Linked DNA regions of Homo sapiens: region 1 is linked to region 2. Evidence: promoter capture Hi-C in 16 types of primary human blood cells and fetal thymus (Javierre and others, 2016). All regions are on one chromosome and are shown on one strand. Each heading gives the region's core, a stretch centred on a gene start or on the middle of the fragment in contact. The rest is flanking DNA. Distances are from core to core; before and after follow the strand shown. Region 1 holds the start of GEMIN8 (gem nuclear organelle associated protein 8). Region 2 holds the start of RAB9A (RAB9A, member RAS oncogene family).

The links. Contacts are between HindIII fragments. The CHiCAGO score rates a contact against its expected background, and 5 or more counts as called.
Region 1: a contact is called between the fragment with the promoter of GEMIN8 here and the fragment with the promoter of RAB9A in region 2, in 1 of 17 cell types (total CD4 T cells). The highest score is 5.4, in total CD4 T cells.

What each region holds. Positions count from the first base shown.
Region 1 is chrX:14,026,691-14,032,851 of GRCh38, reverse strand. It overlaps GEMIN8 (gem nuclear organelle associated protein 8), which reads left to right and starts at 2,960. Exons shown (of 5, transcript NM_001042479.2): 1 at 2,960-3,075. RefSeq lists silencers at 2,620-2,759, 2,794-2,993 and enhancers at 2,370-2,870, 2,871-3,371. The HindIII fragment of the contact is 15,884 bases long and covers 1-6,161 here.
Region 2 is chrX:13,686,906-13,692,379 of GRCh38, reverse strand. RAB9A (RAB9A, member RAS oncogene family) reads right to left here and starts at 3,252. Exons shown (of 3, transcript NM_004251.5): 1 at 3,092-3,252. RefSeq lists silencers at 122-318, 2,943-3,102, 3,113-3,352 and an enhancer at 3,503-3,552. The HindIII fragment of the contact is 3,610 bases long and covers 494-4,103 here.

The sequences.
Region 1 (6,161 bases), core at 1,711-4,210, 340 kb before region 2:
CAAATGGGGGCAGGGAGGGACATCCAGTGGGCAGAGGCCAAGAATGCTTCTAAATATCCTACAATGCACAGAATAGTCCCCACAATGAATTATGCAGCCCCAAATGCCAATAGTGCAGAAAGTGAGAGGTCATGCTTTAGAGTTCCTCATCTGACAGGATTCTTTAAAGTTTTGCTATAATCCATTTAAAATTTGAAGCATATGCCTGAGAAAAATTAAATACTGAGGAATTGCCATTTGTAAATTTCCACCAGGTGGCGCCAAATGACAAGTGAAAATCCAACCTCCTCTAGCCTCCATTTCAAAATTCAGTTTCTCTCCCTGGTTAACCCCCTGGAGTAACAATCCCCATTCTTTTCAAATAGGATTGTCGCTCCTTAGGTGCTTAGTGTTCCCCACCACCAGTATTTTTATGCAAGTGAGTTAAAGTGAGTAATGACTAAAACTCAGACTTAAAGATGAAAAGAACAGGACTACATCCTCAATCAGCTACAGAATTTCCATTCCCTGCAGCAACAAGGGTATGGGAGAATCAGCTAGTTTCTTTTCTTCTTTAGTCAACTTTTAGCTGGGCACTTGGCCATCTGAAAAAGACAATTCCAAGCTCCTGCACCCTTAGGAGGGCTAAGTAATGAAGTTCAGGCCATTAGTAGGAAGTGATCAGAAGTGCTGTGGGCCGCCTCTGGGTAGTACTCTTAAAGCAGTGGTTCTCAACTGGGGGTGACTTTGCCCCCTCCTCCCCCAGCCCAGGAGACATTTGGCAATGTCTGAGGACATTTTTGGCTGTCACAACTGGGAGACAGTACTGGCATCTTGTGAGTAGAGACCAGAGATGCTACTAAAACTCCTACAATGCACAGGACAACCCCCAAAACACAGAATTATCCAACCCCAAATGTGAATAGTGCCAAGGTGGAGAAATCCTTAGAGGGAAAGGGCATGCCCTTGGCTTTCTCTTTCCCACTGGCTGAAAGGTGCAGTGGTGCACCATCTTGGACCATGTGGGCCAAGGCAAGAAACCAGGGAGGGTGGAGCTATGAGACAGGTGGAGCTGCCATACTCTGGACTCCTTACACCCAGACTGCCATGAGATAGAAATACACTTCTCAACAGTTTGAGCCACTCCTCTTCTGGGTCTCTGTGACAGCAGCCAACTAATATTCTATCTAATGCCATAGTATACCATATATATTGTATTTTTTCATTCATAGAACCAGGAATCACTCTACCTGAACTATATCCACTCTAGGCCTGCATCCTTCTGCCTTTCCCAGGAACCCCCTAAGCTCTTTCTCCCTATCTTACCCCTCTCCATCTTTCTTTCCTGCCTCTCTAGATGCTGGCTTCTTCCTTGAGGTAGAGATTGCACCAGGCCCCATCTGACTTATCTGTCTCAATCCACACCTGACTTTTCCCATAAGACTTCACCCTCCTACCATCTCCTGCTTCTATCCATAGATATCTCATTTCCTCCCACATCCATTTTCTGAGGTGGAGGAATAATCTTTTCTAAAATAATCCCCCTCTATATACACATACTTTCTGGCCCTTACCCTGCTATACTGTCTTCATATAACTCACCACAACATACAATTCTATTTATCTGCTTATTGTCTATGTTCTACACAAAAGATTTAATTTTATGAGCCCCAAAACTGTATTGTTTACTACTGTGTATCCGGTAAATAGAATACCACGGTACAATAGAAATGCAATGCATGCCACATATATAATTTTAAATGTTCTAGTAGCCACACTAATAAAGTAAAAAGATAAAGATCAAATTTTAGTCTTTAACCTCAATAGTCCTTCTCTAAGATGTTATCACTATAAAGAAATTGAGGTATTTTACATTCTTTTTCTCATTCTTCTTCAAAATCTAGAGTGTAATTTACCCTTACAGTGTATCTCAGTTCAGACTACTACAATTCAGGTTCTCAGGGCCACATGTAGTGGTTACAATGGACAGCGCTAACATAGAATACTTGGCACATAGCCGGCATCCAGTAAATATTTGTTAAAGTTAATATTCTTCTATACCATTTTAATTCTTCTGTAGTCCAGGAATAATACAGTAATGTCACGTCATTAATACCACCCAATTGACTTAGCCATTTCCTTGTTGGGCATTTAGGTCTTTTCCAATTTTCACTTTTTAAAATAATTCTGTAATAAACATCTATCTGGTTCGTACCTGTTTTTCCTTGGAATAAATTCCCAGAAAGTATTAAATATGGTAATTGCCCCAGAAATGATATGTCACGTAAGACTTCTAATTGTTTATGCTTGGTTCTTGTTAATGACTCTTGTAATGTTAACAGGGCAGGTATTGCTGTGATGGTTATAATTACAAACATATTAGTACTAATGTTTTGTCTGCTGCAATGCATCAGGCACTCTGCATTAGGTTATGCATATCTTATAGATGAGACACACGAGGCTTGGGGAAGTTACAAACTTAGCACTGGACTCGCACTCAAACTGAGATCTGGGTTAATCTATTTTCAAAGACTGGGTGTTTTACGCTGGGACAAATTAAGAAACTAAAACTGTTTTAGTTAAGAAAGAAAACAGAAAGGAAGAAAGAAAAGGCTAAGTAAAGACAAGGGAAGGAAAACGAAGAAAGCTGAGGAAAGGACAAAAAGTTAAAGGCTGGAAACCCGGGCGGTGCAGAAGCGACCCTTATCTCGCCGGTGCAGAAGCACCGTCCGACCCCCGGCGCGGGTGCCCGCCACAGTCCCAGTGCCCCGCCCGGTGCAGCTCCCTCTCCGCCGGCCCCGCCACCCGCAGCCATCCCACGCCTGCCGCCCCGGCGCTCCACTCGGGGTAGCCGATTAGCAGGCAGCTTCCGGCCTCCAGCACTGCACCGCCTGCGGTGCGAACGTGACGTCCGCGACACAGGGGGGGACTTCCGGCGCGCCGCGCCACGCCACGTGTTCCGCACCGGAAGCGCGCTTCCAGTCGCCCCGGCAACAGCCGCCTCCCTCGCGTCCCCCACTCCCCCTCTGTCTCTCCAAGGAAAACTAGGCCCCTGCGCGGCCAACGCCCAGGATCCGCAAGCTGCGCGCCCACGAGGTGACTTCGGGGACGGCTGGGTTTCCTTTGGGGAGTGAGGGAGGAGCTTAGACGCCCCGGGCCCTGGCTTCTTCTGATGCGCAGAGAGCCGAGGTCTTGGACGTCACGTTGCTCTCATAATTATCTTAATCCCGCGACAAAAGGTGGGGCCGGAGGCCCATGAGATTCCTAAATCATTGCAGGTTAATTGTGAGAGGGGACCAGTCCCAGAGGCTCTCAGCTCTGCAGTGCTTCCGAATCACTGGACGACTCTTTAAGAATTCTGATCCCCGGGCCCCCATCCCGGACCAATGAAATCAGAATCTCTAATAGTGGGGCCCTGGCATCGGTAGTTTTTAAAGCTGCCCAGGTGATTCTGGGGTGCCGAGAACCACCGTGTTAAGGTCTGTAGGTGAATTCGGATTTTGCCCATCCAGTCCAGTATCTGAATAGAAGATCGCCCAGGACAGCCACATACTTGAAGGATGTCTAGGATATTGCCCTCTCTGCTCAAAAATTCGGGTTTCTTTCTTTTCTCTTGCACTTTAACCTCTGCAGGAGGTCAGCTTTTGGTGGGAGTTATCTTGAGACATCTGGCGCCTACAGTTTATGGGCCTTGTGTCTCTGCCCACTTATCAGTAATGAGCTGTAATTGAACCAGTGGCCAACGAAGTGCATTTTAGCTCTGAAATCTTGATGTTCCCTTAGTACAGATCAGATGGTTCTGAACAATTTTATTTTTTTCAGGAATGATGTTTTTAAACTCGTTTGACAGGCTAGGCTGTGTATTCAGCTGTTCTTCATCTCAAATCAGAACAATATTACTTAAAAAATCTAGACTAAAGATTAGTAACGCAACACTTCTAGGATTATTTATGCTCACAGCCCCCATGAATTGTAGGATGAGAGCTACCCTTTAAAAATACTATTTTTGCTAGCATAATTTATCGGAATAACAGTCTCTTTGTAATTTCAATGTGAACAGAAACCATATATTTTTAAAGACTGCTGGTTAGTAACTTGGAATAAGCATAACTGAAAGCAAGTTCACAGGTGTATAAATCCCCTCTGTGTGTTCATTGCTGTGCTGGGGAAGTATACAAACTAAAGTTCCAGAGAGAAATGTTCATTCTGAAACTGTTCTATAGATGGTGATTAATCATTTTGGGTTTTTTTTTAAAGGATAGGGTGAGATGAGAATGACGGGGGAAAGTTTTGAACAGTTAAGGCTAGAGTGTAAATTGGAGAGTTTGCAAAGTAGGTACAGAACTTTTTTTGAACAACTTCTCTACAAGAGGAAATTCAGCCACGGAACAGCTGGACAAGTGAAAAAAGAATGTAGTTGATCAAATATCAGATGAATTGAAAAGATCTTTGAAAACATAATGTATTTAAATATTTGCTTCCTGAAAAGATTTGGTGCTTTATAGTCAGTTTTTTGAGTTACTAGGTCCTCAGAGATTTTGGGGAGTAGATGCAGGAGGAGAGAACGTTATCAGGAAACAACAGACAAGCTCAACAATTTCAGCAGCATCTAAGAGCATGAAATATTAGCTATTATTTTTATGCTGGAAGGAAAATAGGAAACTTAAAAGGAGTAGATTGTAGAATCCATGCCTACAGGTAACTGAGTAAGTGCCCAAGTAAATGAGGCATAGTGAGTGCCTATAAATTCAGAAAAGAGAGATTAACATGGAATTACCGTGAATATGTTTATAGAAAAAAGTAAATTTGAAATAAGACGCCTGAAATGTACTAGCGATCTTAACTACTTTAAACTAGCCATGGTTTTTGCTGTTATGCTCTTAATTTGCAGAACCTGCCTATTCAACCCTTATTACCTTATGGTCACACTAGGTTTTGCTTATGAAGGACATGCTTGCTGTGAAACAAACTTATCTGTTTCCTCTTTTGAACTATGTTATCATTATGTCATTCTCAGTCATCCCATTGCTTGTTGTGTTCCTGAGTCAGAGGGTAACTTTGTTCCTGGCCTCATATTTCACTTTTGATTCTGATATTAGTCACAAGGGGATTCAGAGAACTTGCAAATAAACCCATTCACAAATTCATCACACTTGCTGACAAATTAAACAATGCCCTTCTGTGGGTGGAATGTCATTTGTATGAAAAAAAGAATTGTTAACTGCATCCTTTCAGCCTTACTCCTTCCCCATGCTATGCCTTCTTTGTGACAGTACTTATTACAACATCCAGAAGAGGGTAAATTGGGGTTGGGGATTGAGGGAATGAAAAGAAAATAAAACTCAGTTTTTTGGCTCCCTTGCCTATCAGTTTTAACTGTAGCTATTATAGACGGGGAGATGCAGGCTTTCTGAACACAGTGGCATGTGCACTTGAGTAGGCCTGTGTCCTGCCCAAGATGGAGCTTGGATGTCTGCAGGTGGAAGAAGGCCATTTGGACTTGAGCCATCTTTGATGTCCAAATCACTAAGCAGGGACCATGCAAAGACACAGGAGGGAGGCCATGAGGGCATCAAGCCAGATGAGCTTGCCAGCCTCAGCAACCAGCCAGGGATGGGGGCAGGGCTGCCCAAGTAGGTGGGGCAGGAAGCCCAGCCCTCAACAAAACCCTATTATATTCTTTGTCTTAGTGAGGAAGTTCTTACTGTTGTGTGTATTATTGGAAGACATCTTCTGTGATAGGGTTATTATTGCATGTACAGAGAGATTCCTTGGAACCGCATATGACTCAATCTATCTCACTCAGATTTCTCACCATACCTTCACTTATTTTGCTGCAGTGTCCAGCAGATCTCCTTGAAACAGTGTGTACTGAAGACCTAACTAAATCCTCCAAATTACCTGGTTGGTTCAGAGAACCAAATCACTGGAGCTTTGTAGGGAAGGTTTGACTTTCAGGGCTTTAGCCAGAGTAACTTATTTAATGATTGGCTTTTAATGTGTTTCTGTGCAAAGATCAAAGCAGGTGAATTTTCATGTATTTTTAGAATTCTAGTAGAAAAGGAAGATAGGAAAATCTAGTTCAAGTATACATTCTAGTTTTTAGGGGAATTTGTGTTTTTATTTTACTTTTTTGGTTGCTACGATTTGTCCTATATTCTATATTTATAAGAACATAAATA
Region 2 (5,474 bases), core at 2,003-4,502:
TAAACACCATGACACAGGTACTTCTGTGCCGAGTGTGGAGTTGTTTTCTTTAATTATTGTTATTTTTTTAGCGACAAGGTCTCACTCTATCGCCCAGGCTGGAATGCAGTGGTGTGATCATGACTCACTGCAGCCTTGAACTCCAGGGCTCAAGTCGTCCTTCTGCCTCAGCCTCCAGAGTAGCTGGGACATGCACCACCACACTGAGCTAGGCTAATTTTTTTTTTAATTTATTTTTTGTAGAGACGGGGGTCTCACTATGTTGCCCAGGCTGGTCTCAAACTTCTGGGCTCAAGTGATCCTCCTGTGTGGGTCTCCCAAAGCGCTGAGATTACAGGCATGAGCCACCACACTCAGCCTGTTTTGCTTTTTTTTCCTGTTTTGCTTTTTTTTAATGAACACCTGGCCCCTGTCCTTGAGTAGCCCAGGCAATAAATTCTGTTCTAGGATGATGTCAGAACCTAATCTTATGACTGTGATTGGACTGTAAGCTTCAGGAAGGTTGGGACTCCCCACCGCCCTTCTCATCAGCACCTTTGTATCAGTGCCCCACAGGCTGCTCAGACAACTGAAATAATGCAGAAACTAAACTTTCTAAGTCCACTTTAATGGCTCTGAATAGCTCTAAAGTTCTTTTTGTCATTTTTGCCTTACAACAAAAAACAGATTCTGCTACCAGAAATTATTTGGTCTTTTTTTTTTTTTTTTTTTTTTTTTTTTGAGATGGAGTCTCATTCTGTTGCCCAGGCTGGAGCGCAATGGCGTGATCTCGGCTCACTGCAACCTCTGCCTCCCAGGTTCAAGCGATTCTCCTGCCTCAGCCTCCTGAGTAGCTGGGATTACGGGCATCCGCCACCACGCCTGGCTAATTTTTGTATTTTTAGTAGAAACGGAGTTTCACCATGTTGGCCAGGCTGGTTTCAAACTCCTGACCTCGTGATCCGCCCACCTCGGCCTCCCAAAGTGCTGGGATTACAGGCGTGAGCCACCGTGCCCAGCCACTCACTCTTTAATCTTTCAAGTGAATATGCTTCTCAGTAGAGAGAATTTTCCCCTGCTCACTGTTAAAATGATGAGGTATCCCAAATAGGAAAACGACATTGCATTTGAAAAACTACAAAAGCAGTTGAAATGTAAGCTCTGGGGTTACTTGGACTGCTGAAAAGGAGGGTTTCTCAACCGTGGCACTAGTGACATTTTGGGCTAGACAACTCTGTTGTGGGGGGCTGTCCTGTAGGTTATAGAATGTTTAGCAGCAAAATTTAAAAATTAAATAACAAAAATAAAAATAAAAAAGAATGTTTAGCAGCATCCCTGGCCTCTACCCACTAGATGTCAGCAGCACCTCCCTTGCCCCCAGGTGTGAACCAAAGATGCCTCCAGGCATTGCCAAATGTCTCCTACGAGGACAAAATTGTCCTCTCTTCCAGTTGAAAACTACTACTCTAAAATTACCCAGACCTGCTTTGAATCCCCGCTCCACCCCATCACAACCTGGGTCATCTTGGAAAACAGACTGAACCTTCCTATGCCCCCCCAAATTCCTCAACTGTAACATGGAGCTCTTACTGAAGAAATGCTATGGAAATTAAATAAAATGATGTACGTACAGGATTTACACGTACGGAATATTCGCCGCAGAGTGAGTGCTCAATAAATGGTCAGAAATGAGGGGAGGCTAAAAAAAAATAATTTCGAGAACTCAAGGATCTTCTCTTTAGGCCTCCAGAGTACTGTAGTCCAGACAGAAGAAATGGTTGAGATAGAAACAAAAAGAGATGAGAGAGGTTGGAAAAGAAGTGATAGCACTAAGGTATTATTTCCCTTATCTCTAAAACCCGGCTTGGAGTCAAAGCCAATGATGTTCTACTTAGTGTTTGCCTATCTACTCTAACATTCCAAATAATAAACGAAAAAATATGCCCAGATCCCAAAAGTCTCCAGAAGAGAAACTTTGTAGTATAAACGAGGAATTTACCACAGCAGACACAAAAATACTAAAAGCACCAGACTGCCACAGCATTGTCTTAGATTTAGGAATCCAAATAACTACTAAAGTTCTAGAGAAGCAATCATGATAACTTCATAATCTTCTAAAGGAAAAACTAAAGGCTGGCTTCTTAAAAGTTCCTAACTGAATCGTTCCAGGTTTCTTTATCTCTAGTTTTGCTACACTGGACAGCTTCTGAGAGTACAGGCAATGTAGGGATTTTCCATTACAATGGTGCCAGAGACCGAAGGACAAACACATTTTTAAAGAAGCAATCAAATTCTGCCCATTGATTTTTATCAGGACGCTAAAATCCTATGAAAAGATTGTGGTCACGTGCCGATTTGGAAACTAGCAGAAAAGTTATTCCTCAAAAGAACTGTAGTCACGAGATGTGTCATCCCTTACCAAAAAAAAAAAAAAGCAATACGTCCACCAACTATTTATTAAGTTCAGCACTTAAATTTCTCATTTTGCCTTTTTACTTACCAAGTTGGAAGAAAAAAGGGAACGCGATTGTGAAACGTTAGCCAGCGTCTGAATCAGATAATGCCCCCAAAACGCCTGCAGCCTCTAAGATTGGCTTTACTTTCCGAATTCCTCACCCGAGTGGTCGTAAGACATCGAGCAAACACGTTCTGCTAGGTGGAACTTCAGAGGTCGCCAAAATCAAGTCATGGGAGCGCCTTTGTTTTCCCTACATTAATCATTCGGGTGTAGGATTTGGTTTGGGGTCTGTGGATGTGTGTCCCGGAGTGGTTGGGGGAAAGGCTGGCGTGTACGTGTGTTCCCAGGTGACCGGGTGTATTTCTCCGTGTGTATGTGCACGGGTGTCCGGGCTTTTGTATCTCCCTTTCTCCAGTGTTTGTGTGTGTTTCTGTGAGTCCCTCTCCCCAAGGGTGTGGGGACCGTCTTTCCTCCTGCGTCAGAGAGGAGGCAGGGAGACAACCAGCCGTCCTCTCTCCCGGGGCGGCCTTGTGACCCGCGCTAGCCCCGCGCGCACCGCACCCCGCCCCAGCTGCCCGAGGCCCGAGCCGCCCCCTCAGACCCCGACACCCGCGCACTCCGCCCGGTCCCGAAGGAGTCCCGAGTCCCGCTCACCTCGCGGCCACACGAAAGACGACCCGGGAGCTCTGGGCCGGCCCGTCTGGGCGCAATGAGGACAGAGAGAGGGTCGGGGACCTGCACAGCAGGAGGCAGCCGCGGTAGCGCAGCCAGGCTCCCGCTCCAGCTGCTCCCGTCCAGCGCGGAGGGAACAACATGGCGACGGGCCGGGGCGGGGCCAGGGAAAAAGCGGGGCGGGGCCTGGAAGGCGGGGTCCCGCGGCCGAGACCCTGGGGGACGGGCGCGGGGAAGGTGGAGCCGAGGCAGGCGGGGCCTGGATCGTGCTTTTCCTTCGGGTCGATTGCTCCTGAAGTGTCCTCCCGTCTGCGTTCGGGCGACAGCGAGTACGAAATAACTGTCATTTTGAAAAGTTTACGTAAAGTGGAAATAAACAGACCTCATGAGCACAGTCACAGGATGTCGTGATTACAATGATAAAAACGACTAGTCAAACGGACAAAGAACAAACAGGTGGATGAAAAATGAAAACAGTTGTGATACTGTGGAAAAACAAGAACTTTTTAAATGAAGCTATTAAAACTTTCCTTTAATCTTGTTAAAATACTGCCTCTGTCATCTCTGAATAGAAAGCGATGGTGCAAAAGGTGGTATTGGAGAAGCTCTCCTTAAGTCCTTGCTTTATGTATGAAGTTGAGTGCATGGATCCTATGATACAGAACCCTACAGGCGGGAGGGACTCATAGGGACATCTCAATACGTTTTGTACGGTGATTTAGTTTGTTTATCAGAAAACCAAATACTGCGTGTTCTCACTCATAAGTAGAAGCTAAATGATGAGAACTCATGGTCACATAGAGAGGAACAAGAGACACCAGGGCCCACTTGAGGGTTGAGGGTGTGAGGAGGAAAAGGAGCAGAAAAAAACTAGGTATCAAGTACTATGCTTATTACCTGGGTAACTAAATAATCCGTACACCAAGCCCTTGCAACAGGCAGTTTACCTACATGACAAACCTACACATGTACCCCTAAACCTAAAATAAAAGCTTTTTAAAAAAGATTTAGTCTGTTTATTTTCCAAGACAAAGATCTCACTTTTATGATGCTGGGGCTCACAACAAGTTAAATAATCTCCAGCTTTTTGGGGAGTCATTTTCAGGTAATGACTTTTCATTCAGCACTAGAAAGGTCATGTTTGAGAAAGTTCCTCACAAATTAAAAAGGCAATTTTAGAATGCTTCTGAAAACGACACATAAGCTTAAATAATTGTTTTCTCATAAACAGAAATCTATTTCTTATCTGCAGGTCATTTCCCCAAGGAAATATGTATAAACGTTTATAAAATACAAATCTGTTAAATTGGGGGGAAGAAGAAATATACACTATCTTGTTTTAAAACACATATTAAAAGTACACAGTAAAACATTATATATGAACACTAGAGTTAATTTTCCAATAGAAAAAAAAGTCATGTACATTGGGTCAAATTGCAACAAGCAATCCACAGGGTAATTAAAGAAATGCCACCTGAAAATCGTATATCCTAACCATAGTCAAGGAGTGATCAAATAGGAGTTTATCTGTGCAACTGCTAATGCCAACTAGCTATTAACAAGTGATCTCATAAAATTATTGTATTTTGAGTTAAAATAAACCTTGACAAACCCAACAGCTTTCATAAAAATGTTCTAAGAAGGTTCCATAAGTGACTCTCAGGCTGTTCCAAAATGTAAGAAGGCATTCAAACATATTTGAGTGTAGCTTATAGTACCTTAAGAAAGAATAAGCTTAGAAAGTTACTTTCTCTAAAATTACTATCAGTTGGATACTAGCCAACTGACATTTAAGAAAGTTAGTATATTCTGGTCTCTTCCACCATTCACTTCTTAACCACATTTCTATGTCAGTGCAAGAGTAAAGTGGGTTAAAAGATTTTTCTCTGAAGGGCAAGTTTGGGGGATTTTTGTTATTGGATGTGTGTGGTTGGTAAGCTGATGCAAGTTGGATAGACAGTTGCTATCTCTCTTGCTCCATAAACTTGTTCCTTGATGAAAACATTAAAGAACTAACCTAGTTTGACTCCCTTCATCTAACGAAGATTTTCATCTTTATATTCTGTAAACACCAATGCATCACTCACGGGAGAGAAAGAGGCCAAAGTTGCTATGCATAAATGATTCTTTTACTTAAATAACACCTACTTATTACTATAAGTACTAGGAGTTAATACCCCATCTCAAGCTGGAGACTGAAAGAAATCACTTCTGGCATCTCTGATGAAAAGCTACAAGTGGCTGGGCGTGGTGGCTCACGCCTGTAATCCCAGCACTTTGGGAGGCCGAGGCCGGTGGATAATGAGGTCAGGAGTTTGAGACTAGCCTGGCCAACATGGTGAAACCCCGTCTCTACTAAAAATAC